Linked DNA regions of Homo sapiens: region 2 is linked to region 1. The links are contacts of gene promoters, found by promoter capture Hi-C in blood cells and fetal thymus (Javierre and others, 2016). All regions are on one chromosome and are shown on one strand. The core of a region is centred on a gene start or on the middle of the fragment in contact, and the rest is flanking DNA. Distances in the headings are between cores, read along the strand shown. Region 1 holds the start of STXBP5 (syntaxin binding protein 5). Region 2 holds the start of VTA1 (vesicle trafficking 1).

Region 1 (7,065 bases), core at 2,408-4,907:
ATGCTAACATTCTTTTAGTGTATGTGTAGTTTCGTTTTCTTAAAAAGTTGTCTTATTATTTTCATTGTGTTGGCAGAATATTTTTTAGTGCCACCTTGACTCAGCTAAATGTAAGATATATATTTATAATTTGTCAGTAGTATACTATTACATCATCACCTTATGGTCCATTCTTCAAACAGGTAAGAAATAATTTCATTCAGGAGAATGTCACCTAAAGGCAGAAGCTATTGAATTGCTTGAAATCAACATACTTACTCATTCATTCAAATAAAACAAATAAACACAACTTTTCTGAGAAATTATGATGGGTAAAATTCTCTGTTTTGTGCTCAATTTAAAAATGAATAATATAGATTATTTAGTTTAATGTATTTAATTCTAAACTTAAAATGTTTAATTCCAAATAAAATTCTCAAAATTTCAGTTCTAATTTGAAAAAACAAATTGATTAATTCTAACTGACTTATAAGAATTACTGTGAGTTTGAGGATCGATTATTTTACCTTTGCTATAATAAAGGTCGTTATTTTGGGCCATTGTTGGTTTTGGCCATTTGGATTTTCGGATAAGTCCCCGTGTCTCTGAGCACAGAGGATGGACTGCAAGTTCACAAAGGTAGGCTATATCCATCTTAAATTCCAGGTATTCACTAAGAACTGAAATTTTGAGAATGTCAGAATGAGTTCATAACCTGATGGAAAAGATAGAGTATAGAAATAAAAACAAACATTCTAGAGTCAGAAGTAGGAAACTGGCTTAAATTGGTGACTCTTTGAAGTCCCCTTTACCTCAAGGACCCTGATAGAATAGGAAACTGACATTTTTGAGTGTCTACAGAGTACTAAGCAATGCAGTACAAACTTTTCATATTCTTTCTTTTCCCCCTCCAGTTCATGCTCATAAATTTCTAAGAAGGTGGTATTAATCTCATTTTAAACCTGAGGAATCTGATCCCTAGAAAAATTTAAAATTTGCCCAAGATTACACATATTACCATGGCCTGGACTGAAGTTCATGGCTGGCTGACAACAAAGCCTATATTTTCCCACTACACCACAAAGCCTCTCAACAAGAAGTTGTCTTTTTTTTCTAGAAAGTTTTATAATCCAATGATGAAAAATTATCCAATAGATTTATTTTAGACCTAGGTAAGTAAAAAGGCAGATCATACAATTCTATGGGGTTGTGATCTGTCTGTTTTGCAATTTCCCCCTGTGGAATCACATGTACTTTTAAAAAGCTCTCAAGGTAATTCTGAGGCTCTCTTCCCCATTGTCTTCCAATGGTCTTTGCCTCCTGTTCGCTAGGTCTGCTCCTCCTTATCCGGCATGATCTATGGTGGGCGTCACCATGTCCAAGCCTTCCTGGCCAGTTAAGTGGCCCTCTGCCGTCCTCCTTCATTATTCCATCATTGGACTCATCACATCGTTTTACAATTACTATTTATGTTAAAAGTCGTCTCCGTTAGACCGTAGTGAGCTTGCTGAAAGCAAGGATTGCATTTTCGTGTCTTTAGTACCTAGCACACCGCCTGACAACAAAATGTTAGAGAACTAAATTAATAAAAAATTCAGAGCCACTTGGAAATAGTTTAGGAATGTCCTCACATTTGTTTTCTTGGTCGTTGCACCCAGCGAATCAACTAATTCAATAAATATTAAACGACAAATCAAAATTTTGTAGGTTCCAAATGCAAGACATCGTCCTGGGATGCGGAAGCTGCAGAGTGGACTACATTTCCCGAAATCCCTGGGCCCAGTCGTAGTTGGTTCGCTGACTGCTTTTGAATGCTGGTTAACTCAACCAATAGGGTGACGAGAATTTCCCTAAAGGAGAGGGAGCCGACCTCACAAAGAAGAGGGCGGGTGCTTCTGACAGGTTTGGAACTTAAAAAAACCCTTTGTGGCGGTTCCGTGGCTTTTCCGCAGACCAGAGCGCGCGAGGAGTCATTCGCTAGGAACCTGTCCCCCTCTCCCCGAATTAGGATTAGTCTTCCTGCACTTCCTTCCTTCCTTACGTCTTTCCTATTTCCACATCCTTCCTAATCAAGTACCTGTGCTTCCGTCCACCTGTCCTGTTGAACGCACTCTCCGGGGGGTTTCCCCGGCACAATCTCTTGTCTGTCTTTTCCAACTTGAGCCAGGCATTTGTCTCCAAGCATTCACGCGAGATGGGCAGTGCGGCCTCGGAAAGATCTGAGCAAAAACTTCATCCTATCCCCCTTTCCCCGTTCTAGAGTGAAGCTCCCAGGGCATTACTGAGTGGCTCATCAGCGTCAGGGCAGATTGAAGGTTCTGAAAAATAGTGGCAGCGCGGCGTTTCCTGCCACCCGCGCTCCTCCCCGGCGAGGGGCTGGGTGCGGGGTAGTGTCATCGGCCCGGGCTGACACCGGCCCTGGAACCGTTCCCCGCTGGCAGCCTCTTCCATCCCAGCAGCTAACTGCTAAGACCAGACACGTTCCACCAACAGTAACAGCTGTAGGAAAGAACCCGTTTTTTCCCGTCTAGGTTTCTCTCCTTTTCCTAGTACCTAAGTCCATCATCCTCCTGCCACTGACATATCGTTGTCTAGACGCTCTTTTTCAAAACTCAAATCCAATCAAACAAAAACAACGCCCGTCAATAAAGCAAGAAAAATAATACTGCAGCCAGCGGCCAGGAGCGTGCACCCCATTAACGGCGAGAAAGCATCAACCCCTGCTGTAATGACTGAATTGGAAAGAAAGGTTTCCTGCTGCTTGTTAGTCGTCAACATTTTTACTATGCCAGCTGCAAGAGAAGCAGCTGCATACTCTGGCAACTCGACTGGGGTGGGAGAAATTTAGCCAGCGTCTGGGATTTTCGCAGAAGATAATTTAAGCCCCAGCTTCGCTCGGGCTGGGGGGCTGGGGGCCTGCTGGGCCAGGGTGGGGGAACCGGGCTGCGGCGCGCATGCGCAGGTACCGCAGCCCGGCTCCTGGGAGGCCCTGCTGCCGCCACCGCCGCGGCCCGCGCTGTAACCGCGGCTGCCGCTGCTGCTCCGGGCGGGCGTTGGTGCCGTGTGCCGAGGCGCCCTGTCAGGCGATGGGGAGCGGCTGGGCGGGGAGAGCCGACGGCCGCGGCGGCGCCTGAGGAACGCAGCCGGGCTCGGGAGCGGCGAGGGCGGGCCGGTCCAGCGGCGGAGGAGCGAGGCGGGGCGAGGCAGGCGGCGCGGGGACCCACACCAGGCGCCTTGTGTGCGAGGCCGAGCGGCGGCCGCGGACAGAGAGCCGGCGACCCCCGGCAGGAGGAGAAGGAGCCGGAGGACGCGCCGAGGGACTGCGGGGCCGGGGCGGGCGAGCAGCGGCGCGGCCGCGGGCCATGGACGCAGCGGCGACGGTGGCGGCGCCGGGGGCGAGCCGGGGCGGCGGCGCGGCGCAGAGTCCGCCCGCGGCCAGGTGAGGCTGGGCTGAGCGGGCTCGGGCGCCGCCGCCACTGCTGCTGCTGCTGCTGCCGGGCCGCGGAGCGAGGCGGCGGCGGCGGCGGCTGAATCGGCACCACAGCAGCCGCGCCAAGCAGCGGCGGCCTCGGAGGAAGAGGGGTCGCCGCCCAGGTTTCTTGCGGCCGCCGCTCTTGTCGTCGCAGTATTTCCTGTTCGGATTATCTTTTGCTTCCCCCCAGCTGCCTCCTTACCCTCACACTCCCACTCCTCCGTTTCCGCGGTCGAAGCTGCCTTCGGCCCCGGGTGGTCTCCCCCGCCCGGGGACCCCCTGTGCCTCCCCTCCCGGGCTGCGGGGGAGCCCCTCCGAGACCATGAGGAAATTCAACATCAGGAAGGTGCTGGACGGCCTGACCGCCGGCTCGTCCTCGGCGTCGCAGCAGCAACAGCAGCAGCATCCGCCTGGGAACCGGGAGCCGGAGATCCAGGAAACGCTCCAGTCCGAGCACTTTCAGCTCTGCAAGGTGAACGGAGCGCGCAGCCCCGCGACACCGTCATTGAAAAATTGGGGTTGTTTTAAGGGGGCTACTCGGGCTTTACATGGGAATGCAAGGGAAGAGAACGCCAATAATAATAATAATAACTCTAATAAAAGGCTCGCTCCTCCCTTGGCAAACGTTTCTTCGGTGGGTTGTTTTGGAGATTGATACCTTACTCCTTTTCATTGATTTTTCTCTCTCCCCTTTGCACATGCAGCAATCAGTTCAAGGTTGCTTCAAACTATTATCCGACCTTTAATCGTATTCTGACACTGCCAGTAATAACCTGGAAGCTTTTATATTCAAGCGTTTTAATATGATTCACCAACTTCGAAGTTTCCTTTGGAAACGGTGTCTAATGAATGTTGTTTATCAAAAAGCCAAACCTGTTCTACCACACCTTTGCTCATCACTTTTCCCTTAAAATGTGGTGTAAGTGGCTTACGATATGAAATCACAGGGTTCTTTTTATCATTATGTTTGTTAAAAAGTACTGAGATTTTTGCCTGTTAATGGCACGATAATTGCCATAGCGTTCTGTAATTCAGAAAGAATGATGCAGCGAATTAAGTCACCAGCTGCTTAATGAGAAACACAAACTTGCCTCGGTTTTAATACCTGCCTTTCTCATAAATAGCCATGTATTTGTATGTCAGAGTTAATTAAAAGTGTGCATATATATATATATATATATATATATAGGTCTAATGCCCTAAAATGATTATGGCCTTAATAGTAAATTGCAAAAATGTATGTTGTACTCATCTTCATTCTGTTACAAGTGTAAAATGTTGGGATAGAGGTTTGATTATTGCTCTACTGAATGCTTGACTAAAGTAATTATATGACAGCTTTTCCTTAGAAGTACTTGCGTTAGCATCCAAATAAAGTAATGATGAAATGAATACTGCCAAAATAAAGTATGAATTGCATTTAATGGGTTTACAGAATTTTGGACCATTGCAAACTTTAGTCATCTGGTGTCGGATGTAGTAGTATAGAATATTAATAAAAGATTTTCTTCTATGGAATACCAGTATTATGGAAAAGCGAAATTAAAGTATATCACTGGACTAGATTTTTGTTTGTTTCAGGTTCTATGTGAATAACTTTGTTAATGTAGGTTTCACTTATTTTTTCAAAAGCAGTAAGTGCATGTGTATGTGTTTTGCATCAGTGGTAGTGGTTCTAAATTCTAACGCCTCTATTGACTTTCTATTTTAAAATTTCGCTTGCTGCCTTGGTTGCTGTGATGTCACTTGCCCATCCCTAGACTGTTCGCCATGGATTTCCCTATCAACCCTCAGCCCTGGCCTTTGATCCTGTACAGAAGATCCTGGCAGTGGGAACTCAGACTGGTGCTTTAAGGCTGTATCCTTTCTTTAATTTTATTTTTTAACTTCTACTTTGTTCTCCCCAGTCCTTCTGTGTTGCTGATTAGTTCCAAAGAAAGTTTTTATTTTCCTGTTGGTGTGATTAGATATATACTATGAGAAATCATGTGTTGGCTTTTCCCTTGATTATAATTCAGCTTATATACTGCTGTGATGTTTCTCAGCTCCTAGTTTATAGTAGCTAAACATATATCCAAATAGAGGTCTAAAGTTTTTTTATGATAACTATTTTATTTGTAAGGAGATAGAAGTTTCTAAGGAAAAATATATCTGCTTCTATACTATTGGTGTGATGAATGAGGTATGTTAAGGATGAGGTTTAAAGACAATTACTTTTAAAAATATTATGCATGGTAGATATTGAACTTATGACCTATTCTAATAAATTAGAGATTGGATTTCAATCTGAATTTGGTTGTTTTTGGCATGTCCGTGTAGAAAAACAATTAGCAGAAGTGTAGCAAATTAATTTTCTATGAATAGTTATAAATGGTTAATATTTCTACCAGTTTTTAGAGCGTTTTCTTGAAAAATGCATGGGGATAAATTTTTTCTCTTGATATACTTTTTCTCTCATAGTCTACATTTGTTATGTATTTGTAAAAACTGTTAGGTTACTATACATTAAACTAGTAGTATAGAATTACTTTTCCTGGTTGTGTATGAACTATATTAGTTTTATCAAGCATTTTTTTAAATACTTCAAAAGATTTTTTTCAAGATAATTTTTTAGTGAGAACAGTACAGACGACTCACTTTCTATTTTTATGTTGAAATGTGTTTTCTTTTACTGTGACTTTGAAACATACTTAACCTAAATATATTCTTAAACTTAAGATTTGGATTCATCTATCTGTGGGATATCTACCTCCTGCATATTAATGAGTAATGTGTTGGTGATAAATAGAAAAAAAAAATCACTAGATGATTTCAGTAGACATTACTATTGTCAAAAAAAAGAAAAGAAATATACGATAGGGGAGGAGCTTTACCCCTTTATATTTTAGATTTTTCTGGTTCCTGAGAAGGAGTGAGGGAACCTGCATTTGAGTTAAACATGTGCCAGGCATTTTACTTACATTTTAAAGTCATTATTTCAAAGAAGTACTATGTGATACATACAAATATATATATATGTATAGATAGATAGATAGATAATGCCTCAAGTTTTATTTGTCACTTAATGTGCTATCTTCAAAATGCTAATAGAAGTTTTAGGATGGACTATTGAACTGTGTTACTAAGTGAAGTCTACTATACATAGTAAATACTACGCAGTCATACCTTTATAAACGACAAAATCTGACCAGGCTAGATCTGAATCTGTTAATTTCTGAGACGGTGTGTCTGAAGTGCTCTTGCCCAAATATCTAGATAGTTATGACCAGAATGTTTTTTGGCTTCAATTGTTAGATATTTTTATTCCTGAACTCAGTGATCAAGACCATCTAGTTTAGGGTTGTGTGAAGACGGGAATGAAGTTATTTTGTCAGTGTGGGCCCTGAGTGTTCAGCAAAACTCTGTAGTGACGAGACTAGTACAGCGTTGGATCTAGATGCATTCTTTGGAACTGAAAGCAGTTTCTTTTTTTTCCCAACAAGATAATTTCATAACTGGACTAGAAGAAGGAAAGTAAAGTTGAATTAAATCAGCTATTTTTCCCTTATTTTGCTTTTCTGTAAAATGAGTTTAGGTTTTATTGTTTTCCCAGTGTGGTCTCGACATTCTTTTGG
Region 2 (7,065 bases), core at 3,348-5,847, 5.1 Mb before region 1:
TATATATAAATATATATTTATGCAATAAGTACAATAACACAAACAATATATGAATTGCAAAATAATAAATCTTTATTCACAGACATGGTCATGTACATAGAAAATTCTAAAGAACGTTCCAAAAAATTAAATTTATAGGCCAAGCACTGTGGTTCATGCCTGTAATCCCAGCACTTTTAGAGGTGAAGCCAGTAGGATCGCTTGAGTCTAGGAGTTTGAGATTAGCCTAGGCAATATAGCAAGACTCCACCTCTACAAAAAATAAGAAAATTAGCCAGGCATGGTGGTGCCTGCCTGCAGTCCCAGCTACTCCAGAGGCTGAGGTAAGAGGATGACTTGAGCCCAGGAGTTTGAGGCTGCAGTGAGCTATGATTGCACCACTGCCCTCTAGCCTGGGGGACGGAACAAGACTCTAACTTTAAAAATATATATAAATAAACTTATGAGGAATAATTTTTCTATAGAGTAATAAAAAATAAAATTTAAATGTAAAAAATCATTTACAATGCAATAAAAAATATGAAATGCATAGTGATAAATTTTTCAAAATATGTGCTAGACCTGTACAATGAAAACTACGAAACAGTGATGAAAATAATTAAAGACTTTTTAATTTTAATTTTATTTTTTATTTTTTGAGACGGAGTCTCGCTCTGTCGCCCAGGCTGGAGTGCAGTGGCACAATCTTGGCTCACTGCCACCTCTGCCTCCCGGGTTCAAGCGATTCTCTTGCCTCAGTATCCCAAGTAGCTGGGATTACAGGCATGTGCCACCACACCCTGCTAATTTTGTACTTTTAGTAGAGCCGGGGTTTCTCCATGTTGGCCAGGCTGATCACAAACTCCTGACCTCAGGTGATCCACTCTCCTCGGCTTCCCAAAGTGCTGGAATTACAGGCGTGAGCCACTGCACCATTTTAAGTGGAAAAATAAACCATGTCGAGTAAGGCTTGGCAGTCTTACTCATTTGTAACTTTAGTCATTATAAACTGATCTGTAAATTCAATATAATTCCAGTCAAAATCCTAGGAAACTTATATAGAAATTGACAAGCTGTTTCTAAAATTTATATGGAAATACAGGAGATGTAGAATAGCCAACACAATTTTGCAAAAGCAAAGGAAAAAAAAAAAACAGACAGAGGACTTACACTACATACTCTGAAGACTTCTTTAAAGGTACAATAATCAAAATCATGTGGACCGGGCATGAAGATAGGCATATGGAATGGGAACAATCAAGAGACTGGAAATATGTTTGCTCGTATATAGTTAGCTTATTGTTTTAAATGTGCTAATGCAATTCACATTTGTGAATACATTATATTCGTATATAGTTAGCTTATTGTTTTAAATGTGCCGGAACAATTAAATATCCGTGTTTAAAACATAAAATGCAATGTTTATAGTGTCTACATGTCCCAGCCATGGGCGGATGGGGTGGCAAATGGTCCTGGCCAAGTTTTCAGGGTCTTCCCTATCATTCTTCTGCGGAAAATTTAAGGAAAAATTATTTCTACTTGGGGGGGATGCTAAAATAATAGGATGTTAGTCTCATGATACTGGAAGCCAAATTTCTACCACATACAGTATCTTAAAAAGATACAGCTATAGATATATATATTATCCTGATTACATTGACTGATGCCCTGTCATTTGCCAACAAGATGGTTCTGACCAAACGGACACAGAATATTTTTATTGTCAGATGATCACACATACATGTGTGTATGTAGGGTATGGTGTAAAACATTTTTTCCCATCAAAACACCTGTCAGCTCTAGTTTCTCTCCATTTTCTTCTTCCTATGGTTGCCCTCACCCCCTATTTTGTTCTACAGCTCTGCCCTCCCCTTACTTGCCAAGGTTCTAGCCCAGTCCTAGAGGGTGATGTCAGATCCTTCAGAAACTGGTCTGAGATGAATGGAGAAGAAGAATGTAGGTCTTTCTAGTAAAATATCATAGTAAAACAAGAAAAAGCAACCTCACAGTCATTAATATTTGTTTTATAGCATAATTTCAATGTGTGTTACACTAACACTGTCTCTGTACTGTTCTCCATCAAATCAATTATCATCTCATGAAAGGGTTAGCATATTTAGAAAGAAGAGAGCATGAGGCTCTTGTCTGTAATCTCAGCACTTTGGGAGGCCGAGGCAGGAGTATCACTTGAGACTAAGAGTTCAAGACCTGCCTAGGCAACAAAATAATAATAATTAGCCATAGTGTTATGTGCCTGTGGTCCCAGTTACTCAGGAGGCTGAGGCAAGAAGATCCTTGAGCCCAGGAGTCCAAGACTGCAGCGAGCTCTGATAGTGTGCTGCACTCCAGCTTAGGTGACAGAGTGAGAACCTGTCTAAAAAAAAAAAAAAAAAAAGAAAGAAAAAAAGAAGGAAGGAAGGAGAAAAGAAAGAAAAGAAAAGAGCATGTGTTGGCAGATCAGAGAGTAAAATCCAACTCCAACCATTTCACTTTCTTATTTTTCCCTCAGTCCTGCTCATGAGGGTATGCAAATAAGAGTACACATGAATGTATGCAAATGAGAAAGAGTGGCAAAATTCACTTCTGAAGGGGGAGATCAGGAGAGTAACAGGAGGGTGCAGCCTTCTACCAGGAAGAGGAACATTTGTTTCTCAGACATAAGATGATGGAATAGAGAAAAGATAAAACATAAGATCTAGAAAGACATCATAGTCAAGTAGTAATGGCTAGGTGCACAGGCTCTGAAACCAAAATACCTAGATTTTAATGTGGAATACTCATCCTTCCTGGCTGTGACCTAGTGCAAGTTATCTAGATTCTATGTGTCTTATTTTTCTCATCTGTAAAATAATAATGATATGTTCCTCATAGGGTTGTGGTGCAAATTAAATAAATTAATATAAAGACCCTAGAAACATGCATGATACATAGTTGATGCTCAGCAAATGCTGCTAGCTAGTTATTATTACTTTAAGTTGTGGTAGAGGCAAGGCAAAATAATTCATATCTGGTGGTGGCCTTAATCTCAATAGCAGGAAATGCTGTTGTAGACCAAGGAAATTGGGGCTGAGTGCCTAGCTTGAATAGAGCGAGAGAAGTTTGAAACACCATCTGTGGACTACAGCACTGGTCCTTAACCCTAGACGTAACATTAAAATTACATGAGGACCTTTTAAAGATACTGACATTTAGGATCCCACCTAGAACAATTAAGTGAGAATGCCTGGAGTGGGCTTTAAAGTTGATCTTTAAGGGCAGCTGCGGTTGAGAATCAAGAAGTAATAGGAAACAAATAAATGAAAAGTTGTGAGTATAGAAAGAAAACAGTTATGGTTATCCAACTCTGCTTTTCTTCATTGATTTCTCTACCAATCTAGCAACTTTTGACTGGAAAGTCCAAATAGTGGGAGTAAGAGAAAGAGAAAGAAACCATACATTCTCCAGTGGTAGGAAATATGCCGCTGAGATTGGGGAAGAAGACAGAACTGAGTTTCAGGCTGAGTAAAAAAGCCCGACCCAGAATAAGATGATGGACTTTGCAAATAGGTCTAGGCAACGTATGTGGAGTGGGATAATATGAGGACATGGAGCGGTTTCTTCTGGGGGTGAGAGAGTGATCAGAAAATAGTAGGCAGAGGGGAATTTCCGAGCTGGAGATTTTGGCTCTTGGGGATAGTGTGATTTCAGTGAAAACTAGTTTTAAGATGAATTGTCAAAACTGAGGACTGAGATAAAATAAAGAAGGTTATTGGAGGAAGTAAATAAAGTGTACAGTCCTGAAAGATATAAGTAAGGGATGGAGAGGAGAGGAAGAGAATTGAAGTCATTGAGGGTAGAAGGAAAAGTGATGCCTACTGTACAATGGTTAAGAGTTACCAGCGTTGAAAACGTCCCAAACACCCTATCTTACATTAAGACAAGATAATAAATATGAAAATACTTTACAAATTGTTAATCACTCTCCAGAAAAAAAAAAGGTGATCTACAGATTATTCATTCACTAAAATACGTACTAGCCAGCTGAGAACAAAAGTTCAATCTTCTTTAAGCTTCATATGTTTAGCTTAATTTGGCGCGAAATCTGATTATTTTATCCAGTATGTCAACATAGAAAAATTTAATTTACAATTTAAACACATTATTTCTCTCTCATGCAAGTATTGAAATTAAAGTTTCTAAAATCAAAAAGGCTTCTAAAGGACACTGCTATATGGAATATTAATGTGGCATATTAACTGGAAGTGGTAATTCCTGAATGACGCCAAAGGCAATTCTCGCCTTTATACTTTCTCCCAGTCAACATACATTATTTTCTTGTTTTTCCTTTTCTATCCTTCCTTTTGCCACAAACAACAAACCAAACAAAAAAGCAAAACAAAACAAAAACCCTTCCTCCTACCAGCAGAGAGCGCTAGCGCCATGCGCGGCATAAGCGCCAAAATGCTCGGGTCTTCTGTGGGTTCTAACCGCCGAGAGCCAAGCACCCTGAGGTTGTCCCAGCTGGGGATCCGTAGTTGACTTGACGTCGCTGAGCAACGGAAGAGTGGGCAGCATTTGCTCTGAACGCTCGTGCGCGCTACCGCCCAGACGGAAGCGGAAGTGCCGGTGGAGCGCGAGTAGGAAGTGGTGAGTTCGGAGTAGAGATGGCCGCGCTTGCACCGCTGCCCCCGCTCCCCGCACAGTTCAAGAGCATACAGCATCATCTGAGGACGGCTCAGGAGCATGACAAGCGAGACCCTGTGGTGGCTTATTACTGTGAGTCTTTCCGAGTGGCCGCGCCCTTTCTTTCCCAGTTGCATTTTAGGGCCCACACACCTCCCTGAGGTTCTTGGGGCATGCCCCGCCCCCCTCGCTTTAAACCTGAGCTTTGACCTCGAGCCTACCCAGGGAACTCCCTGGGTTCCCACCCCCTGGCAGTAGGAATCCCAAAACACCATGGTGTCCACTGCTTCTCCTATCTTGTGCTTAAATGCTCCAGTACTGACTACACAGGCTCTTGAACTGTGGAATATAATCTTCCAAGGTTTTCTCTGTGTGTGTACACACAAGAGCTTCTTGTCTCAAATAGGAATCCTGAAAATAAATTGAGTTAGGTTTAAAACGAAGGTGAGTGTCCGAAAGAAGGAGTGATGTGGATAAAAGGACGATAGACTAGTTGAAAACATAGTAATAAGTGAATATTATTTATGACAGCATGCAAGCCCAATCAGAAACTCATTTGGTTAAATGGGGAGTATCTGCTACTAAATAAGCAGTTGAATTTGACCTTTCCCCACCCAGCTGCTCTCTCCTACCATGCAGAATTTTTAGTTTTGACTTCTTTGAATAATACCCGCTGTTGAGACCTTTGAAAGCAGTATTTTCACTTTGAGTGTTATACGTTGAATTTACAGTTTGATTAAAAAAAATATAGGTTAACTCTGCTCAAACTTGTAGTGAGTAAAGGGAGTGCCAGTAATTCTGTGTTAACTTTATTTTGTATTCTGTACTCTTAACTTTACTGCAAATAAAACAAGTAACTGGACAATTATAATTCTGAAAAGGATATTTAGAGTTGAGAAGTTGGATATAATGCGTCCATTGTTGTGTATATTGTAAGGTTAGCTAAAATCTGGTCACTGTTATCTCTGCCATACTCCAAATGTACCCTGTTTCTCAAATGTGCAAGGCCTTTTCAGACCTACCATCTTCCACTCTCTTGGAATGTGCACCTTTTTCTTGCACTTGGCAAACTCATGATTCAAGATCTAACCCAAATGTCACCACTTCTGTGGGCAGCAAATTGATTATTCTCTGTGCATTACTTCATTTTGTTCAAATTTTACAGCATCATTTTTATTATACTTGTTCTTCAGTTTCCTCAAGCAGGGTCCATATTCATTCAGTATGTGTTCATTGAGCTACCTTTGTATCAAGCATTAGTAGGCGCTGTGACTACATTTGCTGCATTTTTGGAGCTTACATACAATGGAGGTAGAGAGTTTCAACAATATAGAGTCTATCATACATAGAGTATTAAAAGCTTATGAAGACAAATAGAGCAAGGAAAAGGAATAAGAGTATCAGGAGTAGTGGTGGCAGGGAGTGCAGATGGGATTTCAGTTTCATAGTGGTCAGGAACACTTCACTGAATTGACATTTGGGGAAATAAAAGAGTGAAAGGCATACCTTGCACCATCTGGGAAAGAGTATTCTCCATAGAGGTTATAAAAGTCCCGAAGTAGAGGCTTGCTGGAAGGAGGAGTAAGTAGACTATTGTGACTGGAGTGGATGGGGCTTGGGAGTGATGGGATAAGGTCAAAGAATCTCTCATCCCTAAAGGAAATTCCTGTTCCCGATCCCTGTATCATGTATCTTTGTGACAAACCAGGGACACCTTACTCACTGTCGTCCTTTCCCTCTAGATTTTTCTAAACCTAATCCAGTTTCCTTTATTTAAAAATATAACATAAACTCTCACCATATCATTCCCTAAAGTTGCAGCTCTGCTTTTCCAGCCTTATAGGTAAGTTTGAAATAGTTGTCCATAAGTTAGCTTTACGCCTTTATCTTGTAGAGCCTTTCAGCCCATGCAGTCTGGTTTTCATGCCCAGTATTTCACTGAAACTGCTCTCATCAGGCTTATGAAGAAATATTTTTATTGCTCAGGTGACACTTAACAATTTTAGTTATGAAACATGTACATATAAAAGCATATGTAATGTGCAGACAGTTTAAGGAATAATAAAATGAACACTAATATGCCTATCACATTTGATGTTATTAAACTTTTTAATTTTTGACAATCTGGTGGGTGTGAAATGGTGGTGTCTCATTGGAGCGAAATCTGCAATTCTCTGAGTCTTAATGAGGTTTAGCATCTTTTCATATGTTAATTAACCATTTGTGATTCGGTTTTGAAATACTTGTTTATTGCTTTTGCCCATTTATCTGTCACAGTCTTGTCTTAATAATGTTAGATGTTAATCCTTTGTTATATGTGTTGTAAATATCTTCTCCCATTTCAGTTTGATTTTTCACTCTGAAGACCTTTGATGTTCAGAAGTTCTTAATTTAAAAATGTTATCAATCATTGTATGAATCTCT

What was found. The method cuts DNA at HindIII sites, captures the fragments that hold promoters and counts their contacts. A CHiCAGO score of 5 or more calls a contact.
Region 2: a contact is called between the fragment with the promoter of VTA1 here and the fragment with the promoter of STXBP5 in region 1, in 5 of 17 cell types (total B cells, naive B cells, activated CD4 T cells and 2 more). The highest score is 13.3, in total B cells.

What each region holds. Positions count from the first base shown.
Region 1 is chr6:147,200,760-147,207,824 of GRCh38, forward strand. STXBP5 (syntaxin binding protein 5) reads left to right here and starts at 3,658. Exons shown (of 28, transcript NM_001127715.4): 1 at 3,658-3,923; 2 at 5,212-5,309. The coding sequence starts at 3,774. STXBP5-AS1 (STXBP5 antisense RNA 1) reads right to left here and starts at 3,855. Exons shown (of 11, transcript NR_034115.1): 1 at 3,654-3,855. It overlaps LOC124901422 (a long non-coding RNA gene), which reads right to left and starts at 2,812. Exons shown (of 2, transcript XR_007059803.1): 1 at 2,057-2,812; 2 at 1,117-1,534. RefSeq lists silencers at 2,841-3,260, 3,291-3,340, 3,361-3,440, 3,611-3,800. The HindIII fragment of the contact is 4,433 bases long and covers 1-4,229 here.
Region 2 is chr6:142,142,666-142,149,730 of GRCh38, forward strand. It overlaps VTA1 (vesicle trafficking 1), which reads left to right and starts at 4,598. Exons shown (of 8, transcript NM_016485.5): 1 at 4,598-4,734. The coding sequence starts at 4,623. It overlaps NMBR (neuromedin B receptor), which reads right to left and starts at 4,457. Exons shown (of 4, transcript NM_002511.4): 1 at 4,379-4,457. RefSeq lists enhancers at 4,327-4,621, 4,385-4,524, 4,779-5,299. The HindIII fragment of the contact is 1,973 bases long and covers 4,027-5,999 here.